Regions from separate parts of the Homo sapiens genome. Here regions 1 and 2 are each linked to region 3. Evidence: promoter capture Hi-C in 16 types of primary human blood cells and fetal thymus (Javierre and others, 2016). All regions are on one chromosome and are shown on one strand. The core of a region is centred on a gene start or on the middle of the fragment in contact, and the rest is flanking DNA. Distances in the headings are between cores, read along the strand shown.

Region 1 (3,010 bases), core at 374-2,873, 1.1 Mb before region 3:
ATTAAAAAAAAATTTCATGAGAAAATAAACACAAATGACCCATAATCTTTTAAAACAATTCATCTTCACTAGTAAACCTAAAATATGTGAAGTCATACAACATGATATCATTTATCACTGACAAATTAGCAAGAATTAAAACAATCAAAAAATAATAACAACAAACACCCTAGTGTTGGAATGGTGTGAAACAGGCATCCTACTGCTGGTAGGAATATAAAGTGGTTCAAACTTATGGTTGGAAAGAAGTAGTTCTGAACAACAATTTGGTAATATACACCAAAAAGTTTTAAAATTTTCATCAATTTTCCTATCAAGAATCTATTCTAATCCATCAATCGAATAAGATTTATAGGTATTCAATGTAAGATTTTCTATTTTGCAAAAAAACCAAAATAAACAACAAAAACTACAGACAGGCAAAATGCTCAACACAAGTAAATGACAGCTTGTCTATATGATGAAGAATCACATTTTGAAACATTTCATGATCTAAGAAAATTCTTGTAAAATATTAAGTGAAAAAAGGTTATAAAACGTTTTATAAAATATCATCTCAATTTTCTTTCAAAAACTTGTATGGGTGTATTATTTAGATGTTTTTTGGTAGCTTGTATTCAACTACTCTGGACTTCATACAACCATCTGCTTTTTACTCTTAGAAATTTAAAATATACAAGTATTGCGGATGTTTCCTATTTACTATTGTTTTTGAGATTATAAAGTTGATAGTTATTTTTGAGTGTTTGGATATAAGATGATTTCTGCTTTCTATTTTTATTGTTTCTGTAATCCACCAATAACTGTAATTTTGTATATTCACTTATTCACTCCCTCAAATATTTTTATGTCTATTATAGTAAAGTTCTTAAAGCTTGCTATAAATGGAATCTTAATGCTGGCTACAAATGGAACTAAACAGAGCCATTAGATAAGTGCTAGCAGAGTCCCTGAGCATATCTGAACCAGCTCCTATTAAGGAAACAGAAGCCCAGTGGATCTAAAAGACTTTCTCTATCTGATAGAACTACACAGTAGGGGGCTGGACCAAAAGCAAACCTGTTAAATCCCAATCCCATGATCTTTCCAATTCTCATCATTCCAGAGCTGGTGAGATGAAAGATTTAAGCTTCATTTTTCTTTATACCCAGCATATATAAACTTTGTATTATTTATGGATCATCTTTTTGCTCTACCATTTATAATTAAAGGAATAATAACATCATTAAATATCACATGATATTTGGAAAACAGAGTGAAATATTTCTACTGTATCTCAACAGTAAAATTTAGGAAAATATTAAATTTAATTATATTATTGTCACAATAATACTATGGTAAGATCTTCTTTATATTAGGGCCCAGGCGCAGTGGCTCACGCCTGTAATCCCAGCACTTTGGGAGGCAGAGGCGGGTGGATCGCCTGAGGTCAGGAGTTCAAGACCAGCCTGGCCAACATGGTGAAACTCTTTCTCTACTAAAAATACAAAAATTAGCCAGGCATGGTGGCGCACGCTTGTGATCCCAGCTACTCAGGAGGCTGAGGCACAAGAATAGCTTGAACCTGGGAGGGCGGAGGTTGCAGTGAGCTGAGATCACACCACTGCACTCCAGCCTGGGTGACAGAGCGAGACTCCCTCTAAAAAAAAAATAAATAAAGATCTTTCTTTATGTTAGGAACAAAATTTAGTCTCTATACCAATTTGGCTTCTCCCAAAGGTACAATTCAAAAAAAAAGCAGCTGGCGGTGATGGCTCACATTTGTAATCTTAGCACGTTGGGAGGCCAAGGTGGGAGCATCACTTGAGCCTGGGAGGTCTAGGCTGCAATGAGCTGTGATCATGCCACTGCACTCCAGCCTGGGTGACAGAGCAAGACCCCATCTCCAAAGAAAATGCAATCAAAAGAAAATAGAAAATGAAATATTCTATTACAGTTGTTGAAAGAACCATAATACTGTACTCACAATTGTGTTTGTTATTAACTTTTTAAAAATCAGTGTTTGAACAGCATAAATACCTCATCAGAATAGGAAATAGATCTGCTCGGTGGGCTGTTTTCACTACAGCATTATCTTCTGAAATGCTAAAATGCACTATCTCTTCCTTAAAGCTTCTGTCTTCAAGCAACCTTTGTAAGTTTTCCCTTTAAAAACAGAGAACAGCACAAATCACCACTTTATCAACAGTGCTTTTGAATAATGAAAGAGTGAAATATGTACACAGAGTAATAACTAAAATAAGGTATATAGTACATATTATGGTTGATATCCATAAAGGAAAATCCTCAAAAAAATCTCCTAAAATGACAGATTTGTACATTTCAAAAGGTATAACGGATTAGAAAAGATTAGATTCTGTCCATAACTCAGCTGTTTAAAAAAGCATGATACAAAAAGCTTTCCTCAGTTCTTAGAGTGACTTTGATTCTCTAAGTAACCACCAAGATTCTATGGCATTATATTAATAAGAAGAGGAAAATGACATAATATTTACAACACAGTTTTAAAATTAACATTCTCTATTTTAGTATCATGGAGAACAACCCAACAAATATACTACTCGTTTTCATTTCTTGCTTGGAAATACGATGACCTCAGAAAAAAGGGAAACTTTCTAGGCCTTTAATAAATTATTCTAGAAGAGGCTCTTAGGCAGAAATATAAAAATCAGCTGAAGAAATAACAGTTCTTTAAGCTTCAAGTAACTTACCTGTAAGGGAGGACATGAGGATGTTTATATGTCATTATGCAATCCAAGGTTATTTTTTGCACCATTTGATCTTGGTGTAGCAACAACTAAGAACAGTATTTTACAGAATTAATGAAGTCATATATACATATACCATAGGATAGCAATTTACTTGTGGTTATTTGCTAAATGAGATTTGAAAAATTCTAAATTTTTACACAAGACCTAAACCTGATTGCTAACAACAGCTTCACATTTTCCTGGAAGTAAAAAAAGATGAACAGAATATATGCAAAGTAAAAATGGAAACAAAACTCTCT
Region 2 (2,871 bases), core at 78-2,577, 1.0 Mb before region 3:
TGAGAAGCTTTTTCAACTCCACTGGCTCTACTTCCTTTCACTTCTATTTTAATTTGCTTTATAACTTAAACCAAGTTTCTTCTAGTTTTAAGTATGATTTCTCAATTTTGTGCTCCTGGGCATGTTTTTGATTGACAATTCACTGGAATGAACTGACTTCCTCCATTCTCCCTTTCCTTTTTGACATGAATTTTACTACTTTCCACAAATGTAGAATGATGTTGCAAAGTTACTGTGATGAAGTTGACGAATACCACTAAAATGATTATGACATATAAGTAATTTTCTCCTGCTGCTTTGATCAGATACACAGTTGCTCAATGACATTTTTCGACATGACATTCTGTTTTGAATATCTGTGACTCTGGTCACAGATTAGATAGAGGCTAACTATTCTTGTTAGCCTCTTTTTATTTTTGCCAATGTACTACACCTCGGTCCTATTTGAAAGACAAAAATCTAATCAAAAGAAAAATCACAGAAATCTTAAGTTAAATGATCTGTTTTACAATTATCCTCCAACTCCAGTTTGGTTAGCTTGTTATGCAATAGAAGTGGAATATCAGGTTTTTACTCTTGCACCCTTTTTATCATTAAAATTCACCAAAAAATGGTCAGGTAGGGGAAGGAAGGAAAAAAAAAAACAAAAACAAAGAAAAAAAATTCTCCAAAAAGCTACATTCTCTTTTGTTTCATACTTACCAGGATGTTTAGTGTCTGGAAATCATGATAGATAACTAAGTTAATTTAATTATCAATTCCTTAAAGTCACCACATCTTGATATATATAGTCTTTTTAGTAATAATCATGACTCAACAATCTGCAAAAATCTTACAAAATACTAAGATGCTTTAAAAAACAAAAATGAGTCATTAGTTGCCACGTCATTCCCGTTTTCTAGACCTGCCAATGGCTCCACCAATGAAGTCCATACTCCTTAAGTCATCCTGTAAGGCCCTCTGTGATTTGACCCTCACCCACCTCCATCTCCTCTCACCCCAATCTCCTCCTTGCTCTTTACCCACAGAGGTTTTCTTTCTGTACTTCAAACATGCTGAGCTTATTCCTGTCCCAGAGTCTTTGCAGTTAACTTTTCCTTCTGTCTGGAGAGTCTCTCACTGAGATCTTTGCAAGGCTGGATCCTTCCCAGCTTAAAATTGGACCAAACGTTCCCTCTCTGGAAAGTGACCCCTCTCCATTCAGTCTCCCTCTCAACACTGCTTTGTCTTCTTTTATCACGATCAGGATCTGAAATCATCTCGCTTATTTGCTTACCCGCCTCACCACATTCCTTTCCCCAAAAGAAGGAACTTTTTTCTTATTCTTTGTTGCACCCCAGTATCCAGTGCCTGATACCGTAAGTAGTTGTCAAACGACAGTAAGTTTATCTCCTAAAGAGTCTTTTCACATTTATTATCTTTATTTTTTCTCACAGCAAACTGGTGAGATGGGTAGATAGAGTGTTACTAGTAATATTCAAACTATGATTTTAAAATCTTCATAGAAGGAATCAAAACAAAGGTGACCATTCACACATACCATATCTCCGTTGGGGGTGGCAGAGGGGTGTTTTTGCAGAGAAAGAAACACAGAAGTGGAAGAACTTGCCATGAGTTAGCACATCGAAATTTATTTATTTAACACGTCACCCTCCTGGGAGGATCTGAGATGGCTGAGATGATGGGGTAAGAAGGTCTGACGCCCAGTCTCAGTCAGTCCCTTAGCTTCACCTCATGGAAGCCAAACAACAAAGCAGCTTCACTCTCCCTGCACAGAACTCAGTTTTGGCATGTGCAAGGAATCTGCCTGTTGGAGATGGGCTTGGGTGTTGACAAATCAAGGGAAAAGTTTCAAAGGAATAATTCTATTGGAGTTACTCACTACCCATTCCTCAGGAATCAGAATTCAATACATTTAAAAACCAACAAGATTCTGTTGGCATATTTTAATAGAGAAGCAATTTGTAAGGTATACAGAAGATATAAGTAGGTGTTAAGATGAGTTTGCTAAACACAGTGGCTCAACCTGTAACCCCAACACTTTGAGAGGCCAAGGTAGGAAGATCACTTGAGTCCAGGAGTTTGAGACCAGCCTGGGCAACATAGCGAGACCTCGTCTCTACAAAAATTAAAAAATTAGCTGGGCATGGTGGTGCGTGCCTATGGTTCCAGCTACCTGGGAGGCTCAAGTGAGAGGATAGCTTGGGCCCTGGAGATCGAGGCTGCAGTGAGCCGTGATTGTGCCACTGCACTCCGGCCTGGGTGACAGAGCAAGACCTGCTCTTAAAATAATAATAATAATAAATAAAACATTTAAAAAAGAAAATAGGTTCCTCCAGAACCTCAAGCTGATCAAACTCAAAAGCTAGCTCTGCTCTGTGACTGTGGGACAGTAACTCCCACCTCCATGGATGTTTCAAAGTCGAGTATTCAGCACAAACTCAAGGAATGCCCATCAATTCCGCCTCAAAGCAAACCAAAAACACAACAACGGGTCTAACTACTCCAAGAGAAATAAGAAGATTAAGTATAAAAACAAAGGAATGACAAGGGAACTGGTTTCCTAAGCTACAGTTTCTAGAAGCATACCCACTTAACTATTTGAGAAATGATACAATAAATCTTCTCATGTATGTAAATAAGCTTTGTTTTTAACTTCTAAACAATGTGTCATTTTGAATGAAATTAAGAAAGTAATCCATGACACTTAACAACTGAAACAATACAAAGGTATATAATTTTTATTTTTATTTTATTTTATTTTATTTTTTGAGATAGAGTCTTGCTCTGTCGCCCAGGCTGGAGTGCAGTGGCATGATTTCGGCTCACTGCAACCTCTACCTCCTGGGTTCACGCCATTCTCCTGCCTCA
Region 3 (2,904 bases), core at 1-2,500:
ACAGTGGCAGGCTGATTTGGAGCATTTTTGCTAAACTATTTATTTTTCAGAACGGAGATAGGCTACTTAGAAAACTCACTCATAGTATCCAATGTTTTTAGAAAGTGTCATCACAAATAATTCCTGAGTTTGACGTACTAAAAAATAGTTGACACCTTCCAATGAAGTCACTACAGGCATAGCGCTTTTAAGCAGCTTGTCTGGAGCCTCCTCGAGTGCCTTAGAGGGTGGATTTGATAATATGGCCTCCTTAATTACGGATCACAGGTATGTGCTCAAAGTCCAATAAGTTTTTGCAAGCTTTATCGGTCTAAACCCTCCTCCATCCGTATTCTCCCGTTTAGAAAAACAAGACTGCAGGAGTAACCGTGGGGTTTTTTCTCTTAACAAAACCCCTGCCCCACCCACCTCACACACAATAACCTTCCATTCCAGAACTAAAGCTACTGTCAGAGAAGGACGGCGGGCGGCAGGGCCCTGGCTGGTGACCCAGGCTACCGGATTCCGGACCTCAGAACTGAGGTGAACTCTCTCACCCGGTCCTAGAGTAGTGTCCAATGTCCCCGAAAGGTACTACGTTCTCCACCACCGAAACCCGAGCTCTCGAGCCGGCATGGGGGGCTCTCCCTCCGGCAGCTGACTTCGATCCCGGGTCTCCCGTCGCCTCAAGGCCTCTTTCGAGGACTCGGCCCTCTCGGATCCGCTCCCCGGAGCTCGCTGCTCGTCCAGCCCCGCTTTGCGCGGGCGCCGACCGCCGATCGCCCGGCCGGCCGCCGGCAGGCCCGTCACCAGGCAACACCCACCAGCCTGAGCGGCCCTGGGAGGCCTAACCCGGGCGCGAGTCCTCCATTCCCTCCTCGCCGGCTCCGGGAGCCCAGGCGAGAGAGCCGCCGGTGAGGGAGGTCGGTCGGTGCCGGCGGCCGGTCACTTACCTCTTCCTTCTTCCAGGAGGGGCGGTGCTGGGGCTCTTTCCCCCCGCCCCCCTAATAAACGCCTCCTGGCTGTTCCTGCTCTGCCTTCGTGCCTGGCCACTGACTCTGGCTTTACTCCATATCCTCCGCCGCCCCCGCGGCCGCAAACGTCGGAGCTAGAAGGAAAGGGGTGGGGAGGGGAGGGACCGGGGACGAAGAGTAAGGGAGGGGGAAAAAGACTAAAAGACCTGCCGGCCGGGGGCATGACGTCACTTCCTGCCGGTTCGGAAGAGGCGGAGCCAGTACTTCTCTCCGCCCCGGGTGTCAGGTGGGGCGGGGCTATGGTGCCAGGGGAGGAGCCAGCGCGCGAGCTTATGGCGGTTCTTTTGACTCCGAGGTTCCGTAGACTTGTCAGTCAGAACGAGCTTCCGGGCCCAGGGCTGAACGGGCCAAGTTCCAGGAACCGTAGAGATGGCTTCTGCCGGAAAAGGAGGACAGGTAGCCCTGTATATCCTAGCCAAATGTGCAGTGAAGGTGGAGGGGGCAGCTGAAGGGAGCAGGCGGCTGGGACTCTGCTCCTCATTGGTCCAGGGCCCCGCCCATTTCCTAGCCCCGCCCCCTTCCTGCCCTACCAGGCACTGGACTGGGGGACCCAGGACTGAGGCTTTTTAGGGGTTACTGTGGTGAAGTGCCCTTGGAGCGTGCAGGAAAGCGTTTTTTCTCAAACTTTAATATACATACGAATCCCTAGGATCTTGTGAAAGTGCAAATTCTGATTGAGGAGTAGGGTCTGATAATCTGCGTTTCTAATACATGTCCAGATGGCACCAATGCTGCTGGTCCCTAGGCTACACTTACAGCAACAAGGGGTTAATGTACTAGAGGGCAAATTCCTTGAGCTAGAGGAGTTATTTCTTTAATCTAGCCTACTTGTTTAATGAAGGTTAGAGAGGTAGACTGTCTATGGAAAACAGGCTGTACCGCTGTATTTTCCACCTACCCCGTCGAGTACCCTCCTGCCCACCTCCGCCCATCACTTTCTGGCCTCCCCTCCTCAGTCTCCGCTCTGCCCACAATGTCTGGGGATAAGATTTCTTGAGTGATTAGACGGGTAACTTCTGTTACAGAAGGAATTTGAGGGTGGTGGATTTTTATTTCTGTCATTTTATCGTAAACATATGTATAGTTGGGCATACTTTTGCGGTTATGCATAGTTGGAGAAGAGAGCTTAAGTTCTTGGATTCTACCCACTTCCCCCTGCAAATCTAGAAAAAACATTCTAGAAGTTCTAAGTTATTCCCTTATCATTCTTTAATTTTTTTAATTAATTTTAATTAAATTTAATTTTAATTAAAATTTTACTGGGGTACGGAAGAATGAAGAATGACTGCGAACTATAGGTTTCTTTGTGGAATGATGCAATGGTCTGAAATTAGATAATAGTGATGGCTGCACAACTTTGTGAATGTACTAGAAACACTGAATTGTACACTTTAAAAGGGTACATCCTCTTTCATCAGCCACCATTACAATCCTTCTTCCCCAAGGTTACTCGTTTGAAGTTTATTCTTCCAGATCTTTCTATTTATTTACATACATTTTTACATAGGTTGGGAATTCATTTTTACCTAAGTAGGATAATAATATACAAGTTGTTCTGCTCAGCTCATTTTTAAAAAATTTTTGTTTTGGGTTTTTCTTTTTCCCTACTTAATGAGATCCTTGCACACTATAAACATAGCTCTACTTCATTCTTTCTAATGGCTGGCTACTATTCTATAGTAAGGGTATACCATAATTTATTTAACTGTTTTTTTCAGGTAATAGACTGTTTTTTTTCCCTTGCCCAGGCTGGAGTGCAATGGCGTGATCTCGGCTCACCGCAACCTCCACCTCCTGGTTCTAGCAATTCTCCTGCCTCAGCTTCCCAAGTAGCTGGGATTACAGGCGTGCGACACCATGCCCAGCTAAATTTTTTTGTGTTGTATTTTTG

Evidence for each region. Contacts are between HindIII fragments. The CHiCAGO score rates a contact against its expected background, and 5 or more counts as called.
Region 1: a contact is called between a fragment that was not itself captured here and the fragment with the promoter of DEPDC4 in region 3, in 7 of 17 cell types (total CD4 T cells, activated CD4 T cells, non-activated CD4 T cells and 4 more). The highest score is 11.2, in total CD4 T cells.
Region 2: a contact is called between a fragment that was not itself captured here and the fragment with the promoter of DEPDC4 in region 3, in 2 of 17 cell types (total CD4 T cells and naive CD4 T cells). The highest score is 8.3, in total CD4 T cells.

Annotation. Positions count from the first base shown.
Region 1 is chr12:101,320,639-101,323,648 of GRCh38, reverse strand. UTP20 (UTP20 small subunit processome component) reads right to left here. Exons shown (of 62, transcript NM_014503.3): 24 at 2,712-2,797; 25 at 2,020-2,145. Among named protein-coding and RNA genes, the nearest start is that of UTP20, 42 kb to the right of the region's middle. The HindIII fragment of the contact is 983 bases long and covers 1,132-2,114 here.
Region 2 is chr12:101,296,648-101,299,518 of GRCh38, reverse strand. All of the region lies in intron 12 of UTP20 (UTP20 small subunit processome component), which reads right to left. Among named protein-coding and RNA genes, the nearest start is that of UTP20, 18 kb to the right of the region's middle. RefSeq lists an enhancer at 1-207. The HindIII fragment of the contact is 2,636 bases long and covers 10-2,645 here.
Region 3 is chr12:100,265,425-100,268,328 of GRCh38, reverse strand. It overlaps DEPDC4 (DEP domain containing 4), which reads left to right and starts at 1,250. Exons shown (of 10, transcript NM_001364818.2): 1 at 1,250-1,409. The coding sequence starts at 1,253. SCYL2 (SCY1 like pseudokinase 2) reads right to left here and starts at 1,152. Exons shown (of 18, transcript NM_017988.6): 1 at 537-1,152. RefSeq lists enhancers at 518-577, 588-657, 1,328-1,407 and silencers at 728-807, 908-957. The HindIII fragment of the contact is 4,398 bases long and covers 303-2,904 here.